7 separate regions of the Homo sapiens genome follow, and regions 1, 2, 3, 4, 5 and 6 are each linked to region 7. The links are contacts of gene promoters, found by promoter capture Hi-C in blood cells and fetal thymus (Javierre and others, 2016). All regions are on one chromosome and are shown on one strand. Each heading gives the region's core, a stretch centred on a gene start or on the middle of the fragment in contact. The rest is flanking DNA. Distances are from core to core; before and after follow the strand shown. Region 1 overlaps FAM20B (FAM20B glycosaminoglycan xylosylkinase). Region 2 has its middle 28 kb from the start of FAM20B. Region 3 holds the start of ANGPTL1 (angiopoietin like 1). Region 4 overlaps TOR3A (torsin family 3 member A). Region 5 overlaps FAM163A (family with sequence similarity 163 member A). Region 6 overlaps FAM20B (FAM20B glycosaminoglycan xylosylkinase). Region 7 holds the start of AXDND1 (axonemal dynein light chain domain containing 1).

The links. Contacts are between HindIII fragments. The CHiCAGO score rates a contact against its expected background, and 5 or more counts as called.
Region 1: a contact is called between a fragment that was not itself captured here and the fragment with the promoter of AXDND1 in region 7, in 6 of 17 cell types (non-activated CD4 T cells, activated CD4 T cells, naive CD4 T cells and 3 more). The highest score is 6.8, in non-activated CD4 T cells.
Region 2: a fragment that was not itself captured here is called in contact with the fragment with the promoter of AXDND1 in region 7 in 1 of 17 cell types (naive CD8 T cells); the score reaches 5.5 in naive CD8 T cells.
Region 3: the fragment with the promoter of ANGPTL1 here is called in contact with the fragment with the promoter of AXDND1 in region 7 in 2 of 17 cell types (total B cells and naive B cells); the score reaches 7.9 in total B cells.
Region 4: a contact is called between a fragment that was not itself captured here and the fragment with the promoter of AXDND1 in region 7, in 17 of 17 cell types (activated CD4 T cells, naive CD8 T cells, neutrophils and 14 more). The highest score is 28.4, in activated CD4 T cells.
Region 5: a fragment that was not itself captured here is called in contact with the fragment with the promoter of AXDND1 in region 7 in 1 of 17 cell types (naive CD8 T cells); the score reaches 6.0 in naive CD8 T cells.
Region 6: a contact is called between a fragment that was not itself captured here and the fragment with the promoter of AXDND1 in region 7, in 17 of 17 cell types (naive CD8 T cells, naive CD4 T cells, activated CD4 T cells and 14 more). The highest score is 20.0, in naive CD8 T cells.

The regions. Positions count from the first base shown.
Region 1 is chr1:179,049,542-179,052,241 of GRCh38, reverse strand. It overlaps FAM20B (FAM20B glycosaminoglycan xylosylkinase), which reads right to left. Exons shown (of 8, transcript NM_014864.4): 3 at 1,877-1,963. Among named protein-coding and RNA genes, the nearest start is that of FAM20B, 25 kb to the right of the region's middle. The HindIII fragment of the contact is 2,855 bases long and covers 1-2,700 here.
Region 2 is chr1:178,996,407-178,999,106 of GRCh38, reverse strand. No RefSeq gene overlaps it. Among named protein-coding and RNA genes, the nearest start is that of FAM20B, 28 kb to the left of the region's middle. The HindIII fragment of the contact is 1,613 bases long and covers 539-2,151 here.
Region 3 is chr1:178,869,708-178,872,407 of GRCh38, reverse strand. ANGPTL1 (angiopoietin like 1) reads left to right here and starts at 1,331. Exons shown (of 6, transcript NM_004673.4): 1 at 1,331-1,667. The region is part of intron 8 of RALGPS2 (Ral GEF with PH domain and SH3 binding motif 2); the gene reads right to left. The HindIII fragment of the contact is 10,209 bases long and covers 1-2,700 here.
Region 4 is chr1:179,086,275-179,088,974 of GRCh38, reverse strand. TOR3A (torsin family 3 member A) reads right to left here. Exons shown (of 6, transcript NM_022371.4): 4 at 886-1,064. Among named protein-coding and RNA genes, the nearest start is that of TOR3A, 5.6 kb to the right of the region's middle. RefSeq lists enhancers at 1-437, 438-1,339, 2,589-2,700. The HindIII fragment of the contact is 7,792 bases long and covers 1-2,700 here.
Region 5 is chr1:179,811,147-179,813,846 of GRCh38, reverse strand. It overlaps FAM163A (family with sequence similarity 163 member A), which reads right to left. Exons shown (of 5, transcript NM_173509.3): 3 at 1,716-1,737; 4 at 657-771; 5 at 1-68. The coding sequence starts at 749. Among named protein-coding and RNA genes, the nearest start is that of MIR12116, 8.6 kb to the right of the region's middle. RefSeq lists a silencer at 528-753. The HindIII fragment of the contact is 3,773 bases long and covers 1-2,700 here.
Region 6 is chr1:179,069,681-179,072,380 of GRCh38, reverse strand. FAM20B (FAM20B glycosaminoglycan xylosylkinase) reads right to left here. Exons shown (of 8, transcript NM_014864.4): 8 at 1-468. The coding sequence ends at 237. Among named protein-coding and RNA genes, the nearest start is that of TOR3A, 11 kb to the left of the region's middle. The HindIII fragment of the contact is 6,644 bases long and covers 1-2,700 here.
Region 7 is chr1:179,364,628-179,367,327 of GRCh38, reverse strand. AXDND1 (axonemal dynein light chain domain containing 1) reads right to left here and starts at 1,357. Exons shown (of 26, transcript NM_144696.6): 1 at 1,328-1,357; 2 at 722-924. The coding sequence starts at 818. RefSeq lists enhancers at 957-1,026, 1,407-1,806. The HindIII fragment of the contact is 9,843 bases long and covers 1-2,700 here.

The DNA.
Region 1 (2,700 bases), core at 52-2,551, 320 kb after region 7:
TAATAGAGTTTTAACATACATATGTTTGTATAAACACATATTAAGACCATTAATATTTGTATAAACACATATTAAGGCTATTAATACTCAGATTACATTAGATTCAAGTGTTTTCTCCGTTTGTTGTTTGCTTTTAAATTTTGTCTCTTGCTATATAAGTTCATTATTTTATTTAGTCAAGACTATTGAATTTGTGATTTTTAAGTTATTGCTTTTATGTTTACAAAATCCTAATTCAGAAAAAGACAAACATTTCACCTTTTTTTTTCTGGTTTCCTTATAAATTCATTTTTAGGCTGGGCGTGGTGACTCACGTCTGTAATCCCAGCACTTTGGGAGGCTGAGGTGGGCGGATCACCTCGAGTCAGGAGTTCCAGACCAGCCTGGCCAACATGGTGAAACCCCGTGTTTACTAAAAATACAAAAAATTAGCTGGGTGTGGTGGTGCGTACCTGTAGTCCCAGCTACTCGGTAGGCTGAGGCAGGATAACTGTTTGAACCCAGGACGTCGAGGTTGCAGTAAGCCAAGATCAGGCTACTGCACTCCAGTCTGGAGGACAGAGTGAGACTCTGTCTCAGAAAAAAAATTTATTTATTATTTTATTTTATTTTATTGAGACAGGGTCCCACTCTGTTGCTCAGGCTGGAGTGCAGTGGTGTGATCACAGCTCACTGCAGCCTCGACCTCCCAGGCTCAAGCAATCCTCCCTCCTCAGCCTCCCCACTAGTTGGAACTATAGGCACACGCCACCACACTCAGCTAATTTTTGTATTTTTTTAGTAGAGACGGGGCTTCTCCATGTTGTCCAGGCTGGTCTTGAACTCCTGGGCTCAAGTGATCTGCCCACCTCAGCCTCCTAAAGTGTTGGGATTACAGGTATGAGCCACTGCATCCAGTCATAAATTAATTTTTTAAAACAAATATTGTTAGCAGTTTCTTTTAAAGTCAGCCAATATGGCCTTATGAAAGAGCTGGTCAGCAGAGTAACTGGGATACCAGACAGTTCAGCTGCAAGGTTCCTGACTAGTAACCTGCTGAAAAAGAAAAAAAAAGAATTTTCCTAGTTAACTTACAAACTTATAATTCACATCTATTTTCTTTCCTTTTTTTTTTTTTTTAAAGACAGAGTCTCGCTCTGTCGCCCAGGCTGGAGTGCAGTGGCACGATCTCGGCTCACTGCAAGCTGTGCCTCCTGGGTTCAAGCGATTCTCCTGCCTCAGCCTCCCAAGAAGCTGGGACTACAGGTGCCTGTCACCACGCCCAGCTAATTTTTTGTATTTTAGTAGAGACGGGGTTTCACCATGTTGCCCAGGCTGGTCTCGAACTCCTGAGCTCATGCAATCTGCCCACCTTGGCCTCCCAAAGTGTTGGGATTACAGGCATGAGCCACTACGCCTGGCCCTTTCCTTTTGTAATTATTCTGGTTTTTGAAGCTGTGCATAGTTTGTATAAAGAATAATAAAACTCATATTTCATGCTATATGTTTCCAGCACATGGAAATAAGTCAGCATTACTTACTTAAAACAAATACATAACAAAACAACAGGATGGCTAGACCCAATTAACGACCAGTTCAATTCAGAGATTTAAGTTCAAAGTTTATTTACCAAGAATATCTTCACTGATGATAATAACAGAGCAGGCCAGAAATGAAATGACCTAAAGAAGCATGGAAGTAAAATACTTCAGTATTCCTGGTGCCAACCAAATTATGAGACTCATACAAGTTTAATGGAACTAGTCAATTAGCTATCTAAAATCGATAACAAGTTATTTATTAGTGTTGCATCCTTCTGAAGGAGTCCACGAGTCCTCTCCAAGAAAGATTTTTGAAAGCAAACAAAATGAACATAAGCTGCTGTGATCATACGCACCTGTCCAAGTGAAAGGCTGCTACCTCTGCATTGTGTCTATCATAACCAGCATACGGTTCCCCTTCCACCACATGGTCTCGGCTATACCTGCAAAGTGAATGGGAAGCACAGATGTATACGTGGATTACACCAGTAACAGGTGACAGCACAAGTGGTAGAATACACCCATTAGCAAGCCTGATTCTGCTATAGTCACCTTCTCTGTCAACCCTGCAAACAACTGTGGATTAGCATGAATTGCCGGTAGATGGAATGAAGATGAGGTAGAGAAGGAAACTAGAATTCTCTATCTACGTCACCAATCATTCTAAGAATAAAACATGGAAGCTGTCATTTTTGCCCCACTAAAGGGCTTTTGATGTAGTTTTAGTACAGATAAAAGGTAGTTTTCTGGAAGGCAAGGACTGTCTTTGTATTGCCAGCACAGTGTTAAGCACATAGTTGGTGCTTAATAAATGTCTACTAAAATGTTTATTAGACTGACCTGAAGAAATGAAGAAAAATGTGTAATTAAAACTTTTGCTGGCCAGGCACGGTGGCTCACACCTGTAATCCCAGCACTTTGGCAGGCCAAGATGGGTGGATCACCTGAGGTCGGTAGTTCGAGAACAGCCTGGCCAACATGGCGAAACCCCATCTCTACTAAAAAACACCAAAATTACCTGGGTGTGGTGGTGAATGCCTGTAATCCCAGCTGCTCAGGAGGCTGAGTCAGGAGAATCGCTTGAACCTGGGAGGCGGAGGTTGCAGTGAGCCGAGACTGTGCCACTGCACTCCAGCCTGGGCAACAGAGTGAGGCTCTGTCTCAAAAAACAAAAAACTTT
Region 2 (2,700 bases), core at 96-2,595, 370 kb after region 7:
AAACATACGGTCTGTCTAAGCTTTCTGCTGATTTGACAGCTAGGACAGCAGAAAGGGAATAGAATGGATTCTTCTAATGTGCCTTTACCTTCTTCTTTCTACTTGGGTGCCACAGAGTGACAAAGTCACACATAGATGTAAATGATGCACTGTTAACTGTGACCAAAGGGCTGATGTGAGTCCTAATATTTCAGAGGAAAACAGATCTGAGATGTCCTGGGAAATAATAAAGGGTTACATCACATCGTGCCTGGGCTGTGGGTGTGTGAGGGCCAGGGCTCTTCTAACAGGCAGCAACCAGGGCCTAACCCATTGCTTTCACTACCCCCATGCACGTTCTCATTTATGATATTATTTCGTTTAACAAGATTCTTCCTTTAGCAATCAGGCAAAGATCATGGCCTAGTGTTTTCATGCAGGGATTTCTTCTGGGCATTTTTTTTTGGGAAATCATATATTTTTTTCAAATCCCAAAACCTGAGAAAAATGAATTTGATAAAACAGGCAAAAGTATGATAGTTCTATGAGCACTGAAGCTTAATCAACATAGGGAAATTTCCGATTTGAAGGACTCCATTGACTTCAAGTCAAAATTTGGAGCAGGAAAATGCTGACAACTCCAAATTGAAGGTTAAGGTGGACATTGTTGGGAATGGGCACAGGAATGCATAGGAGAGACGTGGTCATCACATAATCTCGCTTGTGTATAGCTGTTGCAATATTATGAGGGCATGTTTGTGGCTCTACTTGGTTCTATGAGTTATTGTTGCAAATAAAATAATATTAATAGGTTTATGTATTTTTTATACACACTTTTAACAAATCCTATGAGTGGAGTTCCAAGAAATAACAAGTTTTGAAAACAAATATAATTTCCTAAATTGGCAATTTCAAAGCATGATTCTGTGTAGTTCTGTTCACTTTGCTAGAAGATTTGAACATTGCATTATTCAATACAGGCATACCTTGTATTATGGCACTTTGCAGAAATATCGCATTGGTTTCAAATTGAGGGTTTGTGGTAAACCTGCATTGAGCAAATCTATTGGTGCCATGTGCTCACTTTGTGTCTCTGTGTGACATTTTGGTAATTCTTGCAATATTTCTAACTTTTTTATTATTGTTTTATCTGTTATGGTGATCTGTGATCAGTTATTTTTGATGTTATCAGTGTGATTTTTTGTTGTTAGTTTTGCTTGTTTGTTTTTTTAGAGACAGCCTTGTTATATTGCCCAGGCTGACCTTGAACTCCTGAGCTCAAGCAATCCTCCTGCCTCAGCTTCTCAAGTAGCTGGGACTATAGGCATGCATCACAGTGCCTGGCTTTAGTATAATAGTTTTGAAGCTCCACAAACTGCATCCATACAAGATGGTGAACTTAATTGATAAATGTTGTATGTGTTCTGACTGCTCCACCCACCAGTCATTTCCCCATCTCTCTCTCTCTGTCCCTTCCTCCTCCCTCCTTGGGCCTATTCCCCAAGACACAGCAATACTGAAATTAGGCCAGTTAATAACCTTACAATGACCTCAAAGTGTATGAGTGGAAGGAAGAGTCATACATCTCTTACTTTAAATCAAAAGCTAGGAATGATTAAGCATAGTGAGGAAGGCAGGTCAAAAGCTGAGATCGGCTGAAACTTAGGCCTCTTGTGTCAGACAGGTAGCCAAGTTGTAAATGCAAAGGAACAGTTCTTAACAGAAATTAAAAGTGCTATTCCAGTGACCATACAAATGATTAAAAAGCAAAACAGCCCTATTGCCGATATGGAGAAAGTTTGACTGGTCTGCACAGAAGATCAAACTAGCCACAACATTCCCTTAACCCAAAGCCTAACGCAGAGCAAGACTCTAACTGTCTTCAATTCTATGAAGGCTGAGAGAGGTGAGGAAGCTGCAGAACAGTACTTGGAAGCTAGCAGAGATTTGTTCATGAGGTAAATCCATCTCCATCACATAAAAATTCAAGGTGAAGCAGCAGGTGCTGATTTAGAAGTTGCAGCATGTTATCCAGAGAAGATCCAGCTAAGATCACTGATGAAAGTGGCTACACCAAAAACATTTGCAATGTAGGTTAAATAGCCTGTTTCTAGAAAAAGATGCCATCTGGGACTTTTATAGCTAGATAAGTCAATGCCTGGCTTCAAAGCTTCAAAGGACAGGCTGACTCTCTTCTTTAGGGCTAATGCCCCTGATGACTTAAAGTTGAAGCCAAGGCTCATTTGCCTTTCTGAAAATCCTAGTGCTGGCTGGGCGCAGTGGCTCACGCCTGTAATCCCAGCACTTTGGGAGGCCAAGGTGGGTGGATCATGAGGTCAGGAGATCAAGACCATCCTGGCTAACACGGTGAAACCCCATCTCTACTAAAAATACAAAAAAATTAGCTAGGCGTGGTGGTGGGCGCCTGTAGTCTCAGCTACTTGGGAGGCTGAGGCAGAAGAATGGTGTGAACCCAGGAGGCAGAGCTTTCAGTGAGCCAAGATTGCACCACTGCACTCCAGCCTGGGTGACAGAGTGAGACTCCATCTCAAAAAAAAAAAATAATAAAGAAAAAGAAAAAGAAAAAGAAAATCCTAGTGCCTTTGAGGGTTGCTAAATCTACTCTGTTTGTGCTCTATAAATGGAATAGTTGGAGCCCATCTGTTTACAGCATGGTGTACTGAATATTTTAAGCCCACTGTTGAGACCTACTGCTCAGAA
Region 3 (2,700 bases), core at 82-2,581, 490 kb after region 7:
CCAGTATCTTACTACTGATTTACTTCACTGATTTATATTACCTGCTCCATTCTTCTTGTGAGCATTTGCCTTTCTAGGCCCTTGTGTTTGCAACCTCTGGTATACCTATATATGGCATAGGAATTCAAATAAATGATTCTGTGAAAGAGGTAGAAAATAAGCTCAGACTTTAAATAAAGGATGTGGATCAACAGTGTGGCCTAACAGAAAGAGAAACACAGCACAAGCTACAGCAATAAGGAAGGGAAAGCACAGGTATGTAGAGAAAGCCCAAAAGTTTTATCTAGAAGCAGCTTACAGCAACTAGGTAATCAATGACAGAGAGTGTGGCATAATGCTTTGGCATTAGATTCAAATCCCAGTTCCACTACTTAGTACTTAAGTGCTAAGCTAAGTTACTTAAGCCTAAGTTTGTGTTTCTTCAGCTACTGAGTTATTTAACATTTCTTCAATTAATGAAATACAATAGTATAGTTGTACTCAACACTTATTCATTTCTTCCACCACCTTATTTCATAGCAGAAGAACCTTGCCAGAGGCAGGTAAAGTGATTTGTCTAAGTTCACATAGCTGGCATAGAGTCAGAGCTTCCTTGTTTTTTACTCAGTTCAGGGTTATGTTTGTTTTTAAACCACACCACATCAATTAATAACAAGAATGACCTTTTACAGAGAGGAGAGGTCATTTTGTAGAATAGGAGGATATGACATTATGTAACACCAGAATGTAATATTTAAAAGTCTTAAGCATCTGAAAGAATTTCACTTATGTTTGGTAATTATATATAAAGGCTGTTTTATCTTAAGACACATTACACAGTAAGACATAACATACTACAACAACATCAAGTTTCTTGTAAGTTTAAAACCTTCATTAGCAACTTAGTAAAATGTTTACAAATTCTTCTAGGCTATAAAGAGTATTTATTACATTATTTAGGTGGCTGCCTCCTGACAAAGTCTAGCTCTTGTTCTTTGTTAACAAAAACCAAACTCATCAGCCTGCAACTACTTCTAAGTGAAGTGGAGCACTATTTTTTTTTTCGGTATTCAACTTAAAAGATCTCTGGCCAGCAGACTAAAATGTTTGTTTTATAATTGCCCGCTGAACTATGATAGTTTGTTTCCAGATGGTGCCCTTCCTTCAACCTGCACACAATCTCTCCTTGTTCAAAACTATTCAACCTCCTGCTGATCCCACCCCCCTATTTAAGGCTACAAAGAGGAAATCCTAAGGAGATTCCCGCCCCCAGTCTCCAGCAATTTTTGGTGATGTAATATGTGGGCTGAACTTGAGTCTACTGAGAAAGAGGGAATCACTATTCAGGGGTACTGTATATACAATCTGGGTCAGCTGCAGCTGGTTACTGCATTTCTCCATGTGGCAGACAGAGCAAAGCCACAACGCTTTCTCTGCTGGATTAAAGACGGCCCACAGACCAGAACTTCCACTATACTACTTAAAATTACATAGGTGGCTTGTCAAATTCAATTGATTAGTATTGTAAAAGGAAAAAGAAGTTCCTTCTTACAGCTTGGATTCAACGGTCCAAAACAAAAATGCAGCTGCCATTAAAGTCACAGATGAACAAACTTCTACACTGATTTTTAAAATCAAGAATAAGGGCAGCAAGTTTCTGGATTCACTGAATCAACAGACACAAAAAGGTATTTAATATTTCTTTTATTTAAAAATATTATGTATAGCAAATGCATAACTATTTTATATTTGTAGTAGAAATTTCAGAATCTTTTACTAAACAAAGACCTTTGGAATATACTACAGTTTATCTCATCTGAAAAAGGTTTTATCTTGCAACTTGACATAAAAACATTAAGTACTGTGCAATGGTTAATGCATTATTTGAGGTTCAATTTAATGATGTTTAGTGTATATGATTACAGACTGATACATGCATGCCATGCTGGGTTTCTGAAAACAAGTGCTTTAGTGACAGTAGAAAGAAATTTTAACAAGTAACAGATTAAATGTATAAGGCTTACAGCACAATGATTAAAAACAAAGGAATACAAACTAAATAGTCGTGAACACAATTAGTTTCTCTTCCTGCAGCCACAGTGTGTGTGCTGAAGATATACATAAACTGTTGGATTTCTCAGTGTAGTCATAAAACAAAGCTAAGATACAAAAATAGTTGAAAGTCTTTGCAACAAAATCTCAATTACAGTATAACCAAATATTAAGCAGAAATTCTTGTACAGATTTAAGATTAATCTATGGCATTTCTTGTTCCAACTCAAAATTTTAAATAGCTTTCCAGGCTTACATGTAATAGTAATTTAATTTGGATGACAGAAATTAAACTTGCTACAAATGGAATCACTTGGAAAAGCTAAGTTATTGATATACACACAAAAGCATTATGTAAGTGGTATTAACAATAGAAAATAAGAACCCAGAAGATGTAATTAAATTCATGACTAAAAGGCCAAAAATATGTAATATTTTAGGTAGAAATAATTTTGTTAAGCACACATAAGAGGTTTCCTTCAATATTCTATCTGGGAGCTTTTTTTACATGCATTATAAAAACTATTAAAGATAAAATTACTCGTTACCAATAGTATGCCTTAAACCAAAGACACTTAAGTTTGTTAGATTTGGGGCTCCTTTAGCCTTGTAAAAATTAAAGATATTAATGGTTAAGAATCTTGAACAAGCAAATAATGGTAAAGCTAA
Region 4 (2,700 bases), core at 1-2,500, 280 kb after region 7:
CCCAGCAAGCAAGTGCTGGCCTGGGGAAGGCGAGGCCGGAGTGGAGTTGGGAAGGGAGCACTCAGTTTGACTCCTACCGAGGCTCGAGCTGTTGTGAAGCCTTCAAATTGGGTCAACAAGGGCCCAAACTTGACTTGTAACAGACACAGGACTCCCCCAGTTGGAGCCTCCGCAAAAAGATGAGGTTGGACAAGTTATTTCTAAGTTGGCTTCACGCAAAGATGTCAGTGAAAGCACAGGAACCTCAGTGCAGTGATTCAGTGACTGGGTCCCGCATGGTAGCGTCACAACTGAACTACAGGTACTCAGAGGAAGCATGGGTTTCTCAACCCGTATACCCTGGATTTTAAGCCAGTGATGACTTCTCATAATCGGAGAAGAAACAGACTTCCAAGGCTGAAGGAAGAAATGGCCGTGTTGGACTTGATGGGAGACTATGCCGTTCTCTAACCAGGCTTGCCTTGGGAATTTGTTTCAAAAAATCTGTCACCCAGATTGGAGTGCAGTGGCCCGATCTCAGCTCACTGCAACCCCCACCTCCTGGGTTCAAGCGATTCTCCCACCTCAGCCTCCCGAGTAGCTGGGACTACAGGCACATGTCACCACGCCCAGCTAATTTTTATATTTTTTGTAGAGATGGGGTTTCACTATGTTGCCCAGGCTGGTCTTGAACTCCTGGACTCAAGGGACCCGGCCGCCTTGGCCTCCCAAAGTGCTGGGATTACAGGCGTGAGCTACCACAGCTGGCTGCTGCTTTCTGTACCAGAGTTTGTGCTGTTTTTTCTTGAGGAAAGGTTCTGAACCTGGGGGCGTGTGGAAGCCTCCACTGCCAGCTAGTATCTTCCCCTCCCCCAGCCCTCCTGACTATTGTTCCCCAGAACCCACCTGAGAAACAGAAAGATAGTCCATGGAGACTCAGCCCTGTGGCCCTCAGGGGCCCGGCGTTCTAAGTGTGGCCCAAGGACCTCCAGCAGCCCTGGGTGCAGCTTCTCCGCTTCATCGAAGATGAACAGGGTCTGGTGGCAGAGCTGCTGCGTCTCCCGGATCTGGCTCATCAGCTGCTCCTGCACGGGATATAGGGAGCAGCTGGGGAAGTGGTGACTCCTTCCACCTCCGGCCTTGAGGGCGTGGTTTCCCCTGGGCATGTGCAATGGACCCCCTGGGGCTGGGTTCCCCACCCCCCGCCCCCCGCCAGAACCTATCAAATCCAAGCTCTTGGGGAGGGCCTAGGACATTTGCATCTGACCAGCTCCCAGGTGATTCTCAAGCACCCTGAGGGTTGAAAGCTAAACAAGGTGAAGCCAGCTTGGGGACTAGGAGACAGCCTAGAAAGGAGTGGGGAGAAGCCCTTCTGCCCTTGAGAAGGGGCCCCTGCTCCAGCCCTGCTCTCTCCTCTCCAGGACTACATCCCATCCAGGAGCTAACAATGTCCACACACCCGCAAACTTTCATTACTTCTACAACAAAAACATCCAGGCGCAACTTCCCTGTTTAAGCTCAGGGTCTATTCCCAGGGGGTGGATAGGAGTTGAGCTTTCATACAGGGGTGATGGGCAAAGAGAGGCTCATGTGCCCAGAGGCAGCCACAGTCCCCTGCCCTGAACTCCCGGGTGCAGAGCGCCCACTGGCACCCTGGCTGGGCCGAGATCTCAGGGGAGCAAGCCTGCTGAAGGACTGACTGGGCCTAACCAACATCCAACTTGGCTCCTGCAAGCTGTGGAGGGTTCCTTGCCCCAGGCAAGACAGTAAACCCTCAAGTGAAAAGATGGTTCTTTGCAATGTTCATCGAAATGGGCAGGGAATATATTATTCAGGGCCAGCTCCCACTCCAGAGCCCACACTCCCTGTCTACTGGGTGCACCTTTGTGGGGGAAAGTGTGAGGTGCAGGGCTATGCACATGCCAGTTTTCACAGCAGGGAAGCTGGGGCTGCAGCAGTCTTGCCACAGTCTAAGCCAGACAGTTCTGCCCGGAAAGGCCCAGCTCAGCCTGCCCCTGCCCTCCAAAGCCATATGGAAACTGCCAGGAGACGCGGGCAGCCTCTGTCCTCAGACGCTGACATAATCTTCCCAGGTGAACACATTCCAAATATTAAAACAAAGCCAAAGACAGGTGCAGTCAATTCTGTCAGGCTCTTCTGGTATGTTTTCAATACTACATGGCTGAATTAGTAGAAGAAACCCAAAATGGCAGAACAGCCAAGGAAATTTCTGTCCATCCACTTGCTGGTATATAATAAGCTGATACGGGAAGACATGAAAAAATCAGGTAAGATAGGATAGGCCTGTTTTCTTTTTTTTTTTTTTTTTTGAGATGGAGTCTTGCTCTGTTGCCCAGGCTGGAGTGCAGCGGCACGATCTCGGCTCACTGCAAGCTCCGCCTCCCGGGTTCACGCCATTCTCCGGCCTCAGCCTCCCGAGTAGCTGAGACTACAGGTGCCCGCCACCACGCCCAGCTAAGTTTTTGTATTTTTAGTAGAGACGGGGTTTCACCGTGTTAGCCAGGATGGTCTCGATCTCCTGACCTCGTGATCCACCCACCTAGGCTTCCCAAAGTGCTGGGATTACAGGCGTGAGCCACCATGTCCGGCCAATAGGCCTGTTTAAATTTTAAAAAGGCAGGATATACAACTTTCTGTCCAACGTAGTTACAATGACAAAGAGCCTGGGGAAAGGTTCCGCACCAAAGGCAGCACATAAAA
Region 5 (2,700 bases), core at 147-2,646, 450 kb before region 7:
GGAAGGTCGTGCTCCCGCTCCTCCTCCTCGTCTGCAACCTCGGTTCCGCTCTTCTTGCAGCAGTAATACTGTGCGGAAGGGCAGAGGGATGCCTGAGAGGGTGAATGCTCCCCCCGCCCCATGCATTTTTGAGCGTGCACAGGTGCCCCTGTCCCCTGCTCCATGGAGAACCTAGTGCCAGGCACTGAACCCCAGGGGCCTGCTCCACAAGTTTCTAATCCCAGCTTTGCAAGGCCAGTACTGCTTTCCTTTTCCCCTCCCACCACTCCTCGCAGTAACTCCAGGCTGTAGTTGAGCGGGGCAGGGACACACACATCATATTGAGGACAGGGCTGGAGCTGCTGGCGGCAGCTTTCAGAGCCTCCCCAGAATGGTGCTCTTCCCATGCTCCTGAAATCTCAGAGGTGCAGGAGACACAACCCAATGACCCCGTATCTTTCCAGCACACTTTCTGTGTGCTCTGAGTGGGCAGGCTGGGGGGCACTTAGCTCCCTTCCGACCAGCCCCAACTCCCATCCTCCTTGACTTACGCCTGCTACATTCCATAGCTTTGGGCTCTGTGGGCCCTGAAGTCGGCCTCCAGTTTCTGCCCCCATAATGAAAAAGAGGTTTGCTGGTGGCCTGGCAGCCTCTGGCTACGGGTCCCGGGGACTGACCTGGAGCCTGCAGTAGCACAGGACGGCAATGATGCAGAGGAGGATCACCGTAGCTAGGATTCCGCCAGTGATCACAACCGTTCCCGCTGTCATCCGCCCGGCGCCCCATCAAACTCTGCAAAGATGTGCGGAGGGCTGAGGACCAGCTGTGGCTGCAGCCCTGGGCTGGGCCGGGGGGAGTCTTCCTGGAACTGCCCCGAGGCTGGGGCAGGGGGCCTGAGAGCAGCAGGTGCCGGGAGGGCCAGGCCCCAGGGGTTTCCTGAAGGCTGAGGACGACTGTGGCTCCAGACTGGGCCAGCCTAAGTGGGCGAAGTTGAGTACCCAGTTTCAAAAAGTTCTCACGATCTTTCCCCTTTGGTGCTCTTCTCGCCTTTCCTCTCCCGTCACACCCTTCTTAGCTCCCGCTTCTGCGTGGCTGCAGACACAGAGGAACAGCTGCCGCTGATTGCGGGGCTCCTCCCTGTGTGGCATCATGCTAAGCACCCCCACGCATCTTACTACATCCTCGCGATAACCCTTCGGGGCAGTTATTAGCTATCCCTACCGCACGCATGCTGAACGGGGCTGCGAATAATTTGGCTGCGATTCCACCCAGCCCGTTCATCCCAAAGGCTGTGCTCTTGATCCCCGCCCTCTTGGCACACACCCCAGTGGTCCCTGAGCCTTTGGCCCGGGCTGGCGGGGAAAGGGCCACATCTCGAAAACACCAGGTGGCTCTTCTCTGGCTCAAACCAGCACTTCTTTTGGGGGTATCTCTCTTCTCCTTCAAACCCTCCTGGAAAACAAAGGCAAGGCGAGCCCAGAGGGAGTGGTGTGTGGCATTCTGGGCCCTGGAAGGCTGTGGCCAAGCTGGGGAGACTGGTCCTGGCTTCTGAGGCTGAATGAACAGGACAGAGGCAAGCTCTGGGCATGAGGCTGTCATGGCTTCAGACAGATTCTCCTTTTAGGTCAGTGAATGGGGATTTCTGAGCCTCCCAGGTGCATTGGGACCAAGGGGCAGGAGGGTGGGGAATGGGAAGTTGGCATCTTGGAGATGGAAAAATGACTACGATCACTTACATTCAGTAAAGGGAACGGCGACCTGCAAGACAACAGAAAGGACAGAGATGTTGGAAGAAGAGAGTTACTCACTGAAAAAGGCCAGAAGGGTTAGATGATTCCCAGACAACCCTCATTTTGCTTTCTTCGCTGTGTGGCATATCATCAGTGAGCCCACAGACCCCAAGTCCAGGTCTCCAGCTGGGTCTCCAGCTGCTAGTAGATAGACATTTCAGTGGATGTCCCAGTGGTCATCTCAAACTCAGTTATGACAGGTTAAAGTCACCACCCTGCTCTCCAAATGGACTCCTCTCCTCCGACCTGTCTGGAGGCTCTGTTGGTGGCTCCACCAGAGCTGTCCCGAAGGGCTTTGCAAATTGTTTATTACTCAAAGGGCAAGTGGGGGCTAGAACCCAACTGCACTGTGCTCACAAAGCTATGCACCCTGGTGTGTTCACCAGGTAAAAGGGGGTGCCTTTATCTCTTTACCCAAAGATATCACATGTCCACCACTGTCCTCTTAGAGGGCTGCACCTGCCCGGCAGTGTGGCTCCAAATCCACTCCCGCTCTGTGGACCAGCAGCGTGGGCATCACCTGGGAGCACCATTAGAAAGATAGCATCTCAGGCCCCCCACAGGCCTAATGAGTCAGAGTTTGCATTTTAACAAGGTCCCAATTGAGTAGGTTGCACATTAGAGTTTGACAAGCCCATGGGACGTTCCCCTAGCTGCCCAGAATTTAAACTCCTCAAATTCTTCTTTGGCTACCCCAGTCTTCTGTCCCCCACACCAGTGAAGACTCATCACCTCTCAAGCTGCACTGGCACAATGGTTTCCTAACAAACCTTCCCAGTTTTGTCTCTGAGTACCCTTCCTGCCACCAGCTGTTAAGCCTTCCTTCATACCCCTGGGCCTTTCTGTGACTCTCATGCACCACATTGCCTGCAGGATACATTTATCTGCCCATAAACTTTTAGAGACAGCTTCAAAGACATTGCCATCCCCC
Region 6 (2,700 bases), core at 95-2,594, 290 kb after region 7:
ATGAGCAATTGCCGAGGAGGTGAGAAGGCGATTCAGCAGGAATGTCTCCATGCTCTGAAACTTGTGGTCTTTGCTTTAGTTTCTACTACAGAAAATACCAAAGACATCCAAGGCCACTCTGTCCCGTCACCAGAACTTGCTGCTGGCCACTTCCAATCCATCTCATACCATTTGGAATTGATTGTGCTGTTTCTCTATCTTTGTAAAAAGAAGTTTCACTTATTTTGTGTCGAGAATTACAAGTGTGAGAGAGGCATCCTGTCTTCCACCAGTACTGTGTCCATCCCAAACTGGTCGGTGCACTGCTTCACGGTGGCCAGGACACTCAGGAGCCGCTGGTCCACGGCGTCCAGATGAGGATCAGAGAGCACTGGGGAGATGGGGTCATGGGCCATGGCAGATTTTAAGGCAGACTTTAGCACACCATTCTTTAGGTAGTTCAGTCTGTTCCAGGTGGACACCCGAATGCTGGGAGAAAAAGTTATAGAACAAGGTACATAAAACTTCTCATTATCAAACGGAGTTGAAAGCCTGCTAGGCAGACAAAAGTGAAAAAATAATTAGGTAAAATCCTTTAACTAAATAATTTTTGCTTTAGAATTACCCCTACATAATGAGTAAGCCACATTACTATGTTTTGATATTGTTTCTGTGTAACTAATCAGAGATATATACAGAGATTTACACACATGTTCACTGCAGTGCTGTTTATAACAGGAAAAATGTTGAACAATCTGAATGTCTAACGACTGGGAAATAGTTAAATTATGGTTCATCCATTGAAAGGAATACCATGCAGCTGTTAAAAACAATTTTGAAAATTTAGTGGAATGGGAAAATGCCTATGATATGATGCTGGGTGGGGGGAAGAGGTTGGAGGAAAAACCTGTTTCACTTCAAATCTGTAGGAAAACAAAATACACATACATGGATTGGAATGAAGTACACTACAGTGTTAACAAGAGGATCCTTAGACGTTAATCCTTAGACGTTAATGGGTACTATAAACTTCCTTCTTCCTCATGTGTTTCTGAAGTCTAAAATAATTTCTACTGGGAAAAAATTATTATTATTATTTTTTTTTTGAGACAGAGTCTTGCTCTGTCGCCCAGGCTGGAGTGCAGTGGTGTGATCTCGGCTCACTGCAAGCTCTGCCTCCCGGGTTCACGCCATTCTCCTGCCTCAGCCTCCTGAGTAGCTGGGACTACAGGCACCCGCCACCACGCCCGGCTAATTTTTTTGTATTTTTTAGTAGAGACGGGTTTTCACCGTGTTAGCCAGGATGGTCTTGATCTCCTGACCTCGTGATCCGCCCGCCTCGGCCTCCCAAAGTGCTGGGATTACAGGCGTGAGCCACTGCGCCTGGCGGAAAAAATTATTTTAAGGATACCTATCTGCCTTATTTCACCAACTGCTACCATTTGAATGTCTGTCCCCTACAAAATACATGTTGAAATTGCCATTGTAACAGTATCAAGGTAGAGTCTTTTAAGAGGTCGTTAGGCCATGAGTGCTCTGCCCTCATGGGTGGAACTAATGCTGTTATTAAAAGGCAAGTTCAAGGCCAGGAGCGGTGGCTCACATCTGTAATCCCAACACTTTGGGAGGCCGAGGTGGGCCCTCAGGTTGGGAGTTCAAGACCAGGCTGGCCAACATGGTAAAACCCCGTCTCTACTAAAAATACAAAAATTAGCTGGGCGTGGTGGCAGGTGCCTGTAATCCCAGCTACTTGGGAGGCTGAGGCACAAGAATCACTTGAACCCGGGAGGTGGAGGTTGCAGTGAGCCAAGATTGTGCCACTGCACTCCAGCCTGGGCAAAAGAGCAAGACTCCATCTCAAAAAAAAAAAAAAAAAAAAAAAAAAAGGCGAGTTCAGCCCCTTGTTGCCCTCTCTCTTTGCCCTTTTGCCTTCTGCCATGTGACATGATGACACAGCAATAAGTCCCTTGTCAGATGCTGGCACCTTGATATTTAACGTTCTAGCCTCCAGAACTGTGAACCAATAAATTTCTGTTCATTATAAATTACACAGTCTGGCCAGGTATGGTGGCTCATGCCTGTAATCCCAGCACTCTGGGAGGCCCAAGGGGTCAGATCACTTGAGGTCAGGAGTTCGAGACCAGCCTAGGCAACATGGTGAAACCCCATCTCTCCTAAAAATACAAAAATTACCCGGGCATGGTGGTACATGCCTGTAATCCCAGCTACTTGGGAGGCTGAGACATGAGAATCACTTGAACCTGGGAGGCGGAGGTTGCAGTGAGCCAAGATCGCGCCACTGCACTCCAGCCTGGGCAACAGAGCGAGACTCCATCTCAAAATAAGATAAAATAAAATAAAATAAATTACCCAGTCTGTGGTATCCTGTTACAGCAGCACAAAACGAACTAAGACACCAACTATAGCATATCTTTTATTTAAAATCTGAGAAGAAAAGTTCTTAGCTCTCTGTGGGTAAAGGAGGAATTACTGGGTATGCAGAAATGTCTGATTCTGTAAAAGGCAGCCTGTTGTGCAGCAATTTAAAAGGTAAGAAAGACTGCTGCATAAAGCATGCATGGAAGGGACAAACAGGCACAGACGGAGTACAGTTATTTTTATTCTTAAATATATTACAAATGCCCAGAGCATCAGAGCTTCCTCTGTGAGACTAAGTTATTATGTTACTTCCTCTCAGCTCCAAATTCACTCTTCAAAATA
Region 7 (2,700 bases), core at 108-2,607:
GCCAGAATGGTCTCAATCTCTTGACCTCGTGATCCGCCAGCCTCAGCCTCCCAAATGGGATTACAGGTGTGAGCCACTGTGCCCGGCCTATTTATTTATTTATTTTGAGATGGGGTCTTGCTCTTGTCTCCCAGACTGGAATGCAATGGCTCGATCCTGGCTCACTGCAACCTCACCTCCTGGGTTCAAGCGATTCTCTTGCCTCAGCCTCCAGAGTAAGCTGGGACTACAGGCGCGAGCCACCATGCCCGGCTAATTTTTGTATTTCTAGTAGAGACGGGATTTCATCATATTTGGCCAGGCTGGTCTCGAACTCCTGACCTCAAGTGATCCGCCCACCTCGGCCTCCCAAAGTGCTGGGATTACAGGCGTGAGCCACCGCGCCCTGCCTCACTATTACTTTTTCCAAAGTTCCTTAAAGCCAAAGACCAGGAACCAAAAAATACGTAACTATTGATATTTAAAATAGGTTGAATTTAAAATCATATATAAATCAACATTTGAAAAAAAGTATAAACTGTATTTAGATGGAGTAGTGAAACAGTACTCTGACTCAAAATACTGTAAAAGGAATGACTTCTTGCTTTATTTAAGCAAGTGTGTTAGAAAAATGTAGCCAATCAAGGTATTCTGAATATCAGATTTAAAAAACCGGTGAATGGAAGGTGATTTCTGTCTTACGGCCATGACTGTTTATGACTTCAGAATCAACGAAGTTTACCTCTTGTCCCTTCCTTGGCTACAGACACTTTTAACTTTTTGCTCTCAGATGTTGATGTAGAGTTTAGCGGGGTGGAGGGCGTTTTCGGGAGAGACATAATAAACAATGCCTCCTATCTCTTTAGTAATTTGAAATAGTCCTCCGGAAAGCTAATTTAGACACAAATCAGCGCCGCACTGGGACTTGCAGGCTGCCACATAGTCCTGCAGGCAGAGGAAAAAAGATTTAAAAAAAAAAAAAAAGATGACAACTATTGAGTACTTAGGTTCAGATCGCAGTTTAGAATTCATCTAGCATGGTTCTCCTTCTTCGGGGCGACCTCTATGTTCTGGGGTTATGTGTAGCGACTAAGAAGCCTTAGTGGACCGTCAGGTCGGGGTCAAGGAGCAGGGCAGGAAGGACCCGCTCGGCGGACCCCGCAGACCGCCGGCACCCCTGGTGGGGGACACTCGCTGCAGGCGGCTCGGCTGGGGACCATACCTTCCCCACAGGCAGCGCTCTCGCGCGCCAGTTCCACAAACTCGCGAGTTGGGCAGGCCTCGCACTGCTTCTTGGTTTAAAATGACGGGAAAGGGACACCCGCGATCCTACCCACACATTGCGTACCCGCCCAGCATCCGCTCACTTCCTCCTTTGCTGGAACGCCTGTTTGTCGTCATAGAAACCCAGGGCCCCGAGGTTTAGCGCCCTCCATAGGGGCTGCCTTCAGCGGTGCCGGCGGAGGAGGGAGACAGCTAAGACAATCCCTACACCCTCTTGGAGTTTCTTATGTTCTAAGTCACAGCATAGGTTCAGTAGCAAAGGAGAAGAAAAACGTTTAATCCCGCCGTTGTCACGGAATCCGAAAGTGTCTCACGCCGGGGCTTCCTGCCGCGGGCCAGGCCAGTGCGCAGGCGCCGGTGGGGGTTAGCTCGAGGGGCCGACCCCTGTAGCCCGTGACGCACGCGGGTTAAGCAAGGGTCTTCTGAGTTGTTTCCATCTTTCTAGCTCTCTTTTTTGTTGCTTTGCATATTTTTCTTTCTCTTTCTTCCTCTTTTTCTTTCTTTCTCTTTTTTTCCCCTGAGACGGAATTTCCCTCTTGTCGCCCAGGCTGGAGTTTAATGGTGCGATCTCGGCTCACTGCAACCTCCACCTCCTGGGTTCAAGCAATTCTCCTGCCTCAGCCTCCCAAGCAGCTGGGACTACAGGCAGACGCCACCATGCCCGGCTAATTTTGTAGTTTGTTTTTTGTTTTGTTTTGTTTGAGACGGAGTCTCGTTCTGTCGCGCTGGCTGGAGTGCAATGGTGCGATCTCAGCTCACTGCCACCTCCGCCTCCCAGGTTCAAGCGATTCTCCTGCCTCAGCCTCCCGAGGGACTACAGGCGGGGGCCACCATGCCCGGCTAATTTTTGTATTTTTAGTAGAGACGGGGTTTCACCATATTGGCCAGGCTGGTCTCAAACTCCTGACCGCGCCCGCCTCGGCCTTCCAAAGTGCTGGGATCATAGGCGTGAGCCACTGCGCCCGGACGCTTTGCATATTTTTCTAAAAGCCAGACTCAGGGGGATGTTGGGTAATAAGAAACGCTGGGTCCCTTATTGGGTAAGCCGTCCAGTGCTTTACATTTCGGTCACGTCTTCCTTGGACCCTTAAATGCCTCCCCCCAGAGCACAAGGAAGGCCTCCTGGGCCCAGATTTTTCACCCCCTTGGGGCAGGGAAGGAGGATTGAGCTTAGGTGGAACCAGCTCAGGTATAATTGTCGGGGCTTCTGGCGTGAAAATCTGCCCTCAGGAAAGAATACCATCAGCGGCCGGTGGCTCACGCCTGTAATCCCAGCACTTTCTTAGGCCGAGGCGGGTGGATCACGAGGTCAGGAGTTCGAGACCAGCCTGACCAACATGGTGAAACCCCGTCTCTACTAAAAACACAAAAATTAGCCAAGAGAGGTGGCGCGCGCCTGTAATCCCAGCTACTCAGGAGGTTGAAGCAGGAGATTCG